3 separate regions of the Homo sapiens genome follow, and all the other regions are linked to region 1. Evidence: promoter capture Hi-C in 16 types of primary human blood cells and fetal thymus (Javierre and others, 2016). All regions are on one chromosome and are shown on one strand. Each heading gives the region's core, a stretch centred on a gene start or on the middle of the fragment in contact. The rest is flanking DNA. Distances are from core to core; before and after follow the strand shown. Region 1 holds the start of COLQ (collagen like tail subunit of asymmetric acetylcholinesterase). Region 2 overlaps SH3BP5 (SH3 domain binding protein 5). Region 3 overlaps SH3BP5 (SH3 domain binding protein 5).

What was found. Contacts are between HindIII fragments. The CHiCAGO score rates a contact against its expected background, and 5 or more counts as called.
Region 2: a fragment that was not itself captured here is called in contact with the fragment with the promoter of COLQ in region 1 in 3 of 17 cell types (M1 macrophages, M2 macrophages and monocytes); the score reaches 7.8 in M1 macrophages.
Region 3: a fragment that was not itself captured here is called in contact with the fragment with the promoter of COLQ in region 1 in 1 of 17 cell types (M1 macrophages); the score reaches 5.7 in M1 macrophages.

Annotation. Positions count from the first base shown.
Region 1 is chr3:15,519,486-15,523,370 of GRCh38, forward strand. It overlaps COLQ (collagen like tail subunit of asymmetric acetylcholinesterase), which reads right to left and starts at 2,221. Exons shown (of 17, transcript NM_005677.4): 1 at 2,035-2,221. The coding sequence starts at 2,140. The HindIII fragment of the contact is 3,239 bases long and covers 720-3,885 here.
Region 2 is chr3:15,271,793-15,275,677 of GRCh38, forward strand. The region is part of intron 3 of SH3BP5 (SH3 domain binding protein 5); the gene reads right to left. Among named protein-coding and RNA genes, the nearest start is that of SH3BP5-AS1, 20 kb to the left of the region's middle. The HindIII fragment of the contact is 9,619 bases long and covers 1-3,885 here.
Region 3 is chr3:15,289,894-15,293,778 of GRCh38, forward strand. The region is part of intron 3 of SH3BP5 (SH3 domain binding protein 5); the gene reads right to left. Among named protein-coding and RNA genes, the nearest start is that of SH3BP5-AS1, 38 kb to the left of the region's middle. The HindIII fragment of the contact is 7,378 bases long and covers 1-3,885 here.

The sequences.
Region 1 (3,885 bases), core at 971-3,470:
GCCTGGGATCCATTTTCCTATTTGCCCCTCTTGCCTTTTCAAGCACAGGGTGGTAAAGGCATATTGCAGTTGCTAATCTCTAGGTGCCTCAGCATTCCTTGTTGGTTCCCTTAACCCCGCCCACACCTCTCAAAGTGATCCCTTCATTCAGATCTTTTCATCTGAACCACCTGAGTTGCTTCTTTATCCTGCTGTTGCCCTGATTGGTACAGTCTGCAAAAAGCTTACCTAAGAGATATCTATGTTGTGCCAGGGTGCTCTCCAAGGCAAAGAGTTCAAAAGAAAACCAGAGGTTCTTTTCTCTCTAGTTTTCTGAACTCCTTAACCACTTTGGTGCTATTTAAATTAAGTAATACAAAATGATGGTAAACCCCAGTTTGCAGATGAGAAGCTTTTATTCATTCATTCATCAAATATTTATTGATTACTATGTGCCAGGCACTGTTCTGACCCTGGGAAAACAGTAAAGTACAAGAGAGACACATGCCCTGGCCACATGGTGCTTATAGTGTAAGGCCACTGTCTCTCAGAAGTCAGGGAGCTCATCAGAGGCAGGGCTAGAACCAGAAAACTGAGTTTCCTTAAGTCCTAACCTTCAGCAGATTCTCAAAGGAATCCATGACCCAAACATGATTAAGAACCACCAAATTAGGCCAAATTAACTCTCAAGCTTCTCCCTTGAACTGGGGAATGAATAATGACTACTCACTCCTAGAAGAAGCTTGATGCTCTTAACTTGAATTTGCAGGGGCATGTGGGCACACACCCACGGTGACACCACCACTCACCTTTCCTGCCCACCCTCCTGAATTCTCCACAAATCTGCCCCCACCTCCTTCTGTTTCTCACACTTTTATAATTAGCCTCACACCAGTCTCTGAGTCACTCCCTCATGGCCCACAAACGTTGGCTACACAACTTGCTGATGAGCTGTTTTTATCAATGGACAGCAGTTGGGAGCTGGATTCAGAGATGTGCCCTCTCTGAGAGCCTGGCATTTCTGGCCCTCCCTGTGTTTCCAGCAAAGGCAGCGATAGTGAAATTTCTGTCTCAGTTGAAGTATTTATGAGACTCATGTTGGAGGCATAACTAAAACTTTGCTGGGGAGAGTCAGGGGTCACTGAGGTGAATTGAGGGGGGCTGTGAGGGTCTGCCTGCCTCCTTCAAGCCCTCCGGAAACATTTGAGTTTCCTCAGAAAGGTTTAAATAGGCCATACTAGTAACCGAATACTTCCCCTGCTCTGGGTCAGACAAGACAAGGGCAACAGGCTGCTGACCTCAGAAAAGGTTGCAGGCTGGCAGACACAGCCCCTTCCCCAAATCTCCCAGCCTCATACCCGGCAGACACACTCAGCTCCAGACCTGGCTGTCACTGTGGAACCCCCTCCACTTCTCCCTGGAAAGCTCACTTCTCTCAGGACCTCCAGCTGCCTTGTCTGAGGCTGAAGGGAAGTCGCACCCAGGAAGACAGGTCTGGAGAAAGGGAAAACCTAGTCCTGAGGCTGCAACTGCCCCGCCGCTGTTCACCCCCCACCCCACCGGCCCCTGCCACCTGCATTTTCCCTTCGAGGGACTATTGTGGCCATGGATGCTATCTGGGTCTGGAAAGAGGTTTGTTTACTCCACAACAGCCCCTGTGAGGCAAGCCCCCTTCGAAGAGGTCAGAGATGTATTTATAGAAACATCTGAGACTCACTTCTCTATTACTTGCACACCTCTGTCTCTTTTAAGCTCTCCCAAATTCCTGACCAAGATGAAATCATGCAGCAAATGGGGAGAATAGGGGAGGCAGAAACCATTTTTCAAAGTGTCTCTGCTTTGAGCAGCCAGGTAGGAGCCGGTTGGAACAAGGACAGAAGGGGCTTCCGAGACAAGCTCGGGTGACAGGAAGCTGCTGGGGTGGCCGTCTTCCTTCCAACCTCCCTCCACCAACAGTTGAATGGCAAAAACATCAGGACACATTGCAAAACAATCTTCCTTCCTCCCCCTGTCCCCTGACAGATGGAAGAGAGGAAAGTTGTGGCCATCATTTACCTGCTGAGATTGGAAGAACGCTGTTGATGAAAGTCGGCTGAGACACGATAGAGAGGAAGAAAAGCTGAAGATAAATTCCCAAAGTCATTGGATTCAGGACAACCATGCTGGCCAGGGTCTGGCGAGGGTCAAGTTAGAAAGGAGGCTGCTGCGGAGCCTTGCTTATCTCTGCTTTTCTCTTCCTCACTGCTGTTTGCGTGCGCGTGTGTTTGTGTGTGTGTGTGTGCGTGTGTGTGTGTGTCTGTGTGTGTGTGTGTCTTTCCCTCTTTCTCTTTCCCTCTCCCTCCTCCTCACCCCCTCCCTCTCTCTCCCTCCCCCACCTCTCCTGTCTCCCATGCCTTTACCAAGAAAGAATGCCAACCATTTCCCATTAAACTGTCTCCATGCTACAGAGAGTTATATTTATCTCAAGCTCCATATCAAATGCCCACATTAAAATTAAGATGTCAAAATTTTCTTTTTTGGAGACTGAGGTAAGTGGCTAGTGAAGAGGTGATGAGAAGGCAGCCAAGTCTCAGATGTTCACTGGAGGCAGTCCTCAAGGGCAGAGAGATTCCTAATTGGTTATGTGCCACCATCTACCTCCTTGGAACTGGGCAGAAACAACTCTCCTGATTCAAACTGAATTTCATGGAGAAAAACCCCTCCACTGTCAGCCTGTGACATTTTTACCCATTGTGTAACAAATGTAAAGTTAACTTTTAATTTTTTTCTTTAATCATCCAATAAAAAGGAGGAAGGAAGTAGTTTATATTTCCAAACAGCTTTCTCTGTGAAAAAGTGTTTCTCTCTCCAAAAGCTGCAACCTTTTGATTCAATGCAAGGCAAAATAAATGAAAACAGTAAAAGTATAGAAAAGTGAATGATTTTTATCAAACTATATTCAGAAAAATAACATCACTAACTTAATCTTTGGCTAGACAAAATTATTCAAATAAAAATTATCACATTCTTAATACCTTTTATGAGTTTATAAAAGCCTGTTATAGAGATGATTAGATGACTAAAACAAAATAATAATTCACAGAGTTGTTCATTTTGCTTTAATTTACATATTACATGCCTCATAGGAGTTAACTCAGAAACAGTCTGCTAGTTACTGGATGCTGGGGTGGGCATCCTGCCCCTGTGCTCATTATGGGGAAGGTGGAGTTGGGTCAGGGCGTGGTATAAAGTGATATTTTACAGCTGTAGCACCACACTTGGGCTTGACTCTCAGCTCTGAGTGGCAGTGGACAAGCTCACCTCTCTAAGCCTCAGTTTTCTCATCCATACAATGGAGACAATGTTCCCTTTAAAGGTTTGTTGGAAAGTTAAGTGAGGTAATGGGGATGAATCCTACACGGATTAGAACTTGCACATAGGAACAGCACAAAGGAGACCCAAGGGAGCCATGGTAGCCTGGGTGCAAAGATGGCCTCCAAAAGTCCTCCCAACCCAGTGTGTGCATGACACTCTTCCCAGCAAAAAGCAGGGCTAGTTCCCCTCCCTTAAATCTGAGGTGGCTCTGTGACTTACTTTGACCAATAGAATGTGGCTAAAGGGACACTGTGCCATCTCCTGGCCTAGGCCTTAAAAGGCCTGGCAGCTCCTGCTTTTGCCTTTTCTTGAAAATCAGCTGCCACTTTAAAAAGTCTGGACTATTGAAGAGGCCACATGGAGGGGGAAGCAGCCAGCCTCCAGCTGTTCTGACTATCCCAGATGCAGCATCAACAGGCGAGTGAGGCCATTTTGGAACATCTAGCCCTGTCCTGGTCTCAGATGATGCCAGCCACAGGAGTGACCCCAAGTGAGACCCTCGAAAGAACTGCCCAGCCCAGATTACGAAGTCATGAGCAAATAAAACGGCTA
Region 2 (3,885 bases), core at 1-2,500, 250 kb before region 1:
AGTAGATACCTTTACCCCAAGATGGGCCATGTGATGGCAGCTGTGTGACTGCATGAGAAATCAGCACTGAAACATCACAGTCACCACTCTACAGGCTCACCTTGAATTCCCCAGCAGGGTAGAAGCCACAAACCCGCCTCTGCAGCGTCCCACCACCCTCCCTCGTCCCACCACCCTCCCTCGGTTAACCACATCCCCAAGTCAGTTACATAAGCCCTGGTGGGACGTCCCTAAGGCAGCCCCTGGGACTCGGGAAGAGGGGAACTACAGGGACCCCACCCTTCCCCAAGCAATTCTTGCATGACTTCGAGGAAGTCTTCAGAAACCACAGGCTGAGGACGCTTTGTGAAGAAGGTTAAAGAAGGGGGAACAAAAAAATCAGAGACTCAGAGCACGCCAGCCCCCAAGGCAAAGAACAGCTTTTCCCGAGCACTCTGTGATTGTGTACTGCATACCAGACCCAGACCCAGCCCTCCAGGCGACGATGACAATCAGATGGAGACCCGAACCAAGCATGGAGTGGACACTCAGAAGTCTGTAATACAACGCTGTATGTGACAGTGCCACAGCAGGAAGGGAGGAATGGCAGGGAATGTGAAGGAGAAATTATTTCCAGTACAAAGAACCAAGGAAGGCCTCTTAAAGGAGGAGGATCCCGAACTCAGGACTAAGGACACAAATGATTTGAAAACATGGGCTGATGAGGTGGGGGACAGAAGGAAGGATTTGAGACTCTAAAGACATTACAAAACAGAGTGCCTGTAGGATAAAGACATTACAAAACAGAGTGCCTGTAGGATAAAGACATTACAAAACAGAGTGCCCGTAGGATAAAGACATATTACAAAACAGAGTGCCTGTAGGATAAAGACATTACAAAACAGAGTGCCTGTAGGATAAAGACATTACAAAACAGAGTGCCTGTAGGAGATTCGATGATACCTCAGATCAAATTTTTAAAAAGGACTCCAGTGAAGACCTTGAATGAATGCCAGGCTAAACCTTCAACCAAAGTGGCCCAGGGACCTGCCCCTGCTGTGGACTCACCATGTGGCCCTGGGACCAGTCGCCCACTTCCACTCAGGTGTGCCTCAGCTACACAAGGAGAACAAGGATGCCCACCCTCCCTAGAGCTGACCAACTCACCCCCCCAACCCCTGCCCCACCTCGTGCCTCCAGGCCCATTAGTGGTTCTTAGTTCTTTCATGTGAGGACAGCCCTGCAGGGCCTCCGCAGGCCAAGCTGCTGGGAACGAGAGGAAGCAGAGGGAACCTGTCACCTTAAAAGCCACTCCACCCCCTACCCATAGGTGGCCTCTCCTACCTATATGCTTCACACCAACTCCAGGAGACAGGATGAATCCCACAGGATCCTAAAATGGGATTTGTATTTGCCTTTTTAGGAATTTTTTAGTATTTCAATTCAGCAACATTTAAGGGTAAACTCTCTTCTCCCAGTTCTCTCTGCTTCAGTTATGAATCCCTTATTTCTTCAAGCAAGAAAAGATGCTCTTTTGACGGCCTTCTGAAAGGTGGCTGCTGTACCACGGGCCCAGCACCTCTTCACACCCTCTGCCATGTATCTGATGAGTTCCAAATAAGAGAACCAGATCTCTACAAAGGAAAAGAGGAAGCCCATGTGAAGCTGCCTTTGAGAAGAACATGTGCTGTCAAATTCCGGACAAGCGTCTGAAGTTTCTGCGAGATTCCTTCTCCTGTACAGTGACATAGGATACATGTTTGCCTTGCCATATCACAGGTACAACTAATGTGAGGCCTCATTCCACATTTAACCCACAGAAACCAGATGCCATCTCTCCATAATTCATGCACTTACCGGTTCATTCACTCAAGTAAGCACTGGGCACCTGTCATGCCCCACTGTCTATTCTCTCTATTCGTTGTGGTCTCAAAGGGAGGCAATATCTCAGCTAAAGACCCTCACTTCCCAGCCCTCACTACAACTGGTCCCTCTGGTAAGTGACAGCTAATGAGAGGTAAATGAACACTGAGTGAGATTTCCAGGAAGGCTCCTGTTATGGACTGAATGTTTGTGCCCACCCAAATTTACATATTGAAGCCCTAATCCCTAATGTGATTATATTAGGAAGTGGGGCCTTTGGGAGCCATATTAGTCCATTCTTGTACTGCTATAAAGAAATACCTATGGGCCGGGCATGGTGGCTCACGCCTGGAATCCCAGCACTTTGGGGAGGCCAAGGCAGGTGGATCACTTGAGGCCAGGAATTCAAGACTAGCCTGCCCAACATGGTGAAACACCGTCTCTACTAAAAATACAAAAAAATTAGCTGGGTGTGGTGGCAGAAGTCTATAGTCCCAGCTACTCGGGAGGCTGAGGCAGGAGAATCACCTGAACCCAGGAGGCGGAGGTTGCAGTGAGCTAAGATCACACCATTGCACTCTAGCCTGGGTGACAGAGCAAGACTCTAGCTCAACAAAAAAAAAAGAAAGAAAGAAAGAAAGAAATACCTGAGACTGCGTAATTTATAAAGAAAAGAGGCTTAATCGGCTCACAGTTCAGCAGGCTGTACAAGAAGCCTGATTCTGGTATCTGCTCAGCTTCTGGGGAGGCCTCAGGATACTTACAATCATGGCAGAAGGCAAAGGGGGAACAGGGCATCTCACAAAGTGCCTGGACTTGGATCCTGGGTGCGGGGAAAGTGCTACACACTTTTTTTTTGTTGGTTGGTTGGTTGTCTGAGACTGAATCTCACTCTATCGCCCAGGCTGGAGTATAGTGGTGCGATCTTGGCTCAATGCAACCTCTGCCTCCCGGGTTCAAGTAATTCTCCTGCCTCAGCCTCCTGAGTAGCTGGGACTACAGGTCCATGCCACCACCACTGGACAGTCTCCCTGCCAGCAATACATGGCAAGAGTAGCTGCTAAGACACCAATAATAATTTTTGTATTTTTAGTAGAGACAGGGTTTCGCCATGTTGGCCAAGCCGGTCTCAAACTCCTGACCTCAGATGATCTACCTGCCTCGGCCTCCCAAAGTGCTGGGATTACAGGGTTGCAGGTGTGAGCCGCCACACCCAGTCGCTACACACTTTTAAACCAGATCTCATGAGAACTCATTGTCCAAACAACAGTGCTTGGGAGGTGGTGCTATACCATTCATGAGCAACAGCCTCCATGATTAAATCATCTCCCGCCAAGCCCCACCTCCAACATCGCTGATTACAATTCGACAGGAGATTTGGGAGGGAGCACAGACCCAAACCTTATCAGGAAGTAATTAGGGTTAGATGAGGTCCTGAGGGTGGGACCCTCATGAGGAGATCAGTGCCCTTGTAAGAAGGGGAAGAGAGGGAGATCTCTCCCTCTGGTGCACTGAGGAAGCACCATGCTGTCAAAAGGTCTCCTAGGGAAGATTCTGCAAAGCAGGAGTGTATCAGGCAGCAGGCCAGGCCAAGACAGGAAGCACCAAAGAGTTTACACACTTATCTAACTGAGGAAAGTTTAACTGCGACATTGCTTCTCAGTGTCATCACAAAACACAGGACTTCCAAAGTCAGAAACCAATCAATTTCACAATCCCGGAGAGAGCTGGCTATCTGGTTCTCACCATCATATGAAAGATGACACCTAGAAATCTTTGGTACAACCGATAACATTTTACCTTCACATCGTAATAAAGGCCCCAGGCCCTGGTATTTAATACATTATTTGAATAGGGCTCTATGCTCTCAGGTCCTGTGGTGTGCACAAGTCATGCAGTGATTCACTCACAGCAGAGAAACCCAATGAGCCAGCGGAAGAAGTGAGGCCCTGCTTATAATAGTACTAAAGAGGAAAATGTTAGCAGAGCTTGGTTTGAGGTATAAGATGCAATACAGAAAAAATGTTAAATACCTTCATGACT
Region 3 (3,885 bases), core at 424-2,923, 230 kb before region 1:
TACATAAGGAGAACCTTCACTAAGCTGGCCTTACCCTGAGATCAAGAGACTTAAAGAATGCAAAAACCTCAGAAGATTTTGATATGCCACTGCTTTTAGAAATAACACCAAGCACTTTCTCTGGGGTGTGGTGCTTTGACAAAGGGCTGGGGCATACACTTGGGGCTGACAGTGAATTGATGAGCACAGGGCATCTTTTTTTACTTCCATTTAAACCACTTCCTCAGGCCGGGCACGGTGGCTCACACCTGTAATCCCAGCACTTTGGGAGGTCAAGGCAGTTGAGGTCAGGAGTTTGAGACCAGCCTGGCCAACATGACAAAACCCCGTCTCTTCTAAAAATACAAAAATTAGGCTGGGCGCGGTGGCTCACGTCTGTAATCCCAGCACTTTGAGAGGCCAAGGCGGGCAGATCACGAGGTCAGGAGATGGAGACCACCCTGGCTAACAGTGAAATCCCATCTCTACTAAAAATACAAAAAATTAGCTGGGCATGGTGGCTCACGTCTGTAATCCCAGCTACTTGGGAGGCTGAGGCAGGAGAATTGCTTAAACCTGGGAGATGGAGGTTGCAGTGAGCCGAGATTGCGCCACTGCACTACAGCCTGGGCAACAGAGTGAGACTCTGTCCCAAAAAAAAAAAAAAAAAAAAAAAATTAGCCGGGTATGGTGGCACACACTCATAATCCCAGCTACTTGGGAGGCTGAGGCAGGAGAATCACTTGAACCTAGGAGGTGGAGCTTGCAGTGAACTGAGATCGTGCCACTGCGCTCCAGCCTGGGTGACAGAGCAAGACTCCGTCTCAAAAATAAAAATAAACCACTTACCCAAAATGAAACCTACAAAGTGAGGCTTCCTAACCAGAGCCCATCATTGCCTTAACTGAAGCAAACAGGTGCTCCATCCTCCATGAGAAGGTAAACTCCCCCCATGCCCATGAAAGTTTTAAATGGAAGAAACTAATAAATATCAAACTAATAAAGGCCATCGAGAATGGAGAAGGGGAAAGAACTGGTGGGAGGCAGAAACAGGAAGTGGCTGGAGAAGACAGGGGAAGACACAGCTGAGGAACCCACATTCCAGAAGATTCTTCAGAAGAGACCCAGTTGATGTGGCCTCCCATGAAGCCCTTCGGAATTCTACCGGGAGCTGACCAGCTCTCAGCAAAACCAAGCTAGTGAGGGTTGGGGTGGACAGAAAAAAATACTAGACCCAGCTCCTTATCTTAGAAACTCAATTTCGTCCCAGAAACACCAGGCTTGGGAGTAGCTAGAACAGCAGCATGAGCATTCGCATGCTTTTTAGTATCACTCAACTCTCCTGTCTGTGTTCACTTGTGCCCACTCAAGGCTACAGGCTAAGGAATGACAAAGTGGGAGCCAGGGTTCCTCCACAGCTCCACATGCTGTGGATTCAGGAACCCCAAGACAGGGCAGCTGACCCCAAAACTACTTTCTCTCTCTGGCTGATCAACACTACAAATTCCCTTTTGGTAGGGCTGCCAGATTTAGCAAATAAAAATATAGGCCTTCCAGTTAAATCTGAATTTCAGGTAAACAATTTTTTTAGCTTATGTACCAAATATGGCATAGAACAAATTTATACCTAAAAAAAAAAATCTGAAATTTAACTGGGTGTTCTGTATTCCCATGTTCTATCCGCCAATCTTACTTCTGGCTTAAACTCCACAAGGACATCCCACTGGGTAGAAATGAAAAGTCTACCTACAGCCTGCACTTCTAAGCATTTCCCACTTAGTGTAAAGGGTGTAGTTCTGTCTCTCACATGTGCAGAGGTTCCCACAGCATGATGAACCCTGAGTTGGGAATATGCAGTCCCACCAGGTTGGAAGCAGGGTATTCCAAGCTATGGGAATGTTTGTAAGTCAGAACCACTTGAAGCCCCAGAGACCATAAATCTCTAAGTCTTATCAGTCATTTACTTCTCAGCATGAATAATTTCATCAGATTCTTCAGGGTAGATTTTCATAGAAGTCACAACTGGAAGGGCTGGGGAAGAAGTAGAAAAGAAAGGAAGGAAAGCAGGGGCATCCTCTGAGTCAGGAAAGGAACAGAAGGTGCACCAAGAGTGCACAGCCGGGGCCCAAACCTCGTCACCAGGCAACATAAAAAGGCCAGCCTGTGTCGACAAAACTCGTAGCAGAAACACAACCTATGCTCTGATTTCCTTTCACTGAAAAATTAATCACTCTGCCACTCTTGCCAGGGAATGCCTGTGGTTTACAGAGGGGAAGGGGCTATCCATGTCCATGCAATCACTTTACTGAAAGCAGAGTACAGTTGAGAAGAAGGAAGGAAACATCTGAAGAGCATCATGGTTTCAGGGAACCAAACTCCACACCCTGTTTCCCCTCTAACCACTATGCTGTGGTGACAAACCACACCTGTTAGCTTCACAGAGAACACTGCCTGCCCAGCAGCACCAAGGGGGGCTCAGCCATGCCTCTGTGAATAGCAAAGGAGATAAGAAAAAGGGAGTTGCCCATGACAAACCTCCCAACTAACAAGGTGATGGAGGGCAGCTCCTCCAGCCCAGTGCTTCCTGGCTAAGACCTGCCTGCAACCAGTCCCCCACGCGGACTTCCTGCCACCTGCCAGACAGAATGGGGTTGAATGCAAATGGTTCATGGCATCACCAGAAAAGAAAACCTAAGCCAGGCGCGGTGGCTCATGCCTGTAATCCCAGCACTTTGGGAGGCCAAGGTGGGTGGATCACCTGAGGTCAAGAGTTTGAGACCAGCCTGACCAACATGGAGAAACCCCATCTCTACTAAAAATACAAAATTAGCTGGGCGTGGTGGCGCATGCCTGTAATCGCAGCTACTCGGGAGGCTGAAGCAGGAGAATTGCTTGAATCCGGGAGGCGGAGGTTGTGGTGAGCCGAGATCACACCATTGCACCCCAGCCTGGGCAACAAAAGCGAAATTCCATCTAAAAAGAAAAAAGAAAAGAAAACCTCAAGATCAGCAACACTCTCCCTGCTCCAGCCCCAGACGCCCGAGGCAGAGCCAGCCAAGCAGGAGGTGCAACCCTTCTGGCAGAAGCCCAAAAATCTACTTGTGTGTGTCAGGAGCCTTTGACCTGGGTCAAAAGCTGCAACACATCTCCTTCCTGACCCCATCCTAATTCAAGATTCCAAGTTTCCAAAGTGCAGCTGCTTCTTTCCCAGAATCTTCAGCCAAGACTGTCAGGCAGGATGTGATCTTTCAGGCGAAGGAGAGTTAAGAGTCCATGCTCAGTTCTTGCCATAAATCTCCAGGAACTCTGCTTTGAGACAGATGCCCTGTCATTCCACTACGTGCCCTTACTTTGGGCAGCAGGAATGACGCAGTTCCCAGGAACTGGCCTGTGGCCACCCAGGGGGAATGTGACCAGGGCCACAGGGAAGAACGTCACTGAGCCAGACCTCCTCACCCAAAGTCCCGTGGCAAGAACTGCCCCCAGGCAGGCAAGTGGCTCTGCAGAGATAAAGTGACGGGGAAGAAGGAAGGCATGACAAAGCCACACTGAAGTCCTAGCAGGAACAGGGCACCATGAGGGGAAAGTTCCCAAGGACTCCAGATTCTTGGAACAAGAGCTTCTCGGAACAAGAGCTTCTCAGTTACCCTAGCCAAGAAGAGGCAGGGGTGTGCAGGGAAATAACTGCACCAATGAGCTCAAAAACTGCCTTTAGTCCTAAAAGCCCATTCTCCTCAGATGTGCCAGAGTGTCTTTCAGATTTGCAAATAGTCATAAATGCCTCCTATGTGCCAGGCACCAGCCAGAACCAGGTAGACTTGGTTTAAACCTTCACTCCTGTCCTCGCAAGGTCTGTGATGTTAAAGTCCCCAAGCCTCAGTGATTATTCCCCCTCAGTATGATGAA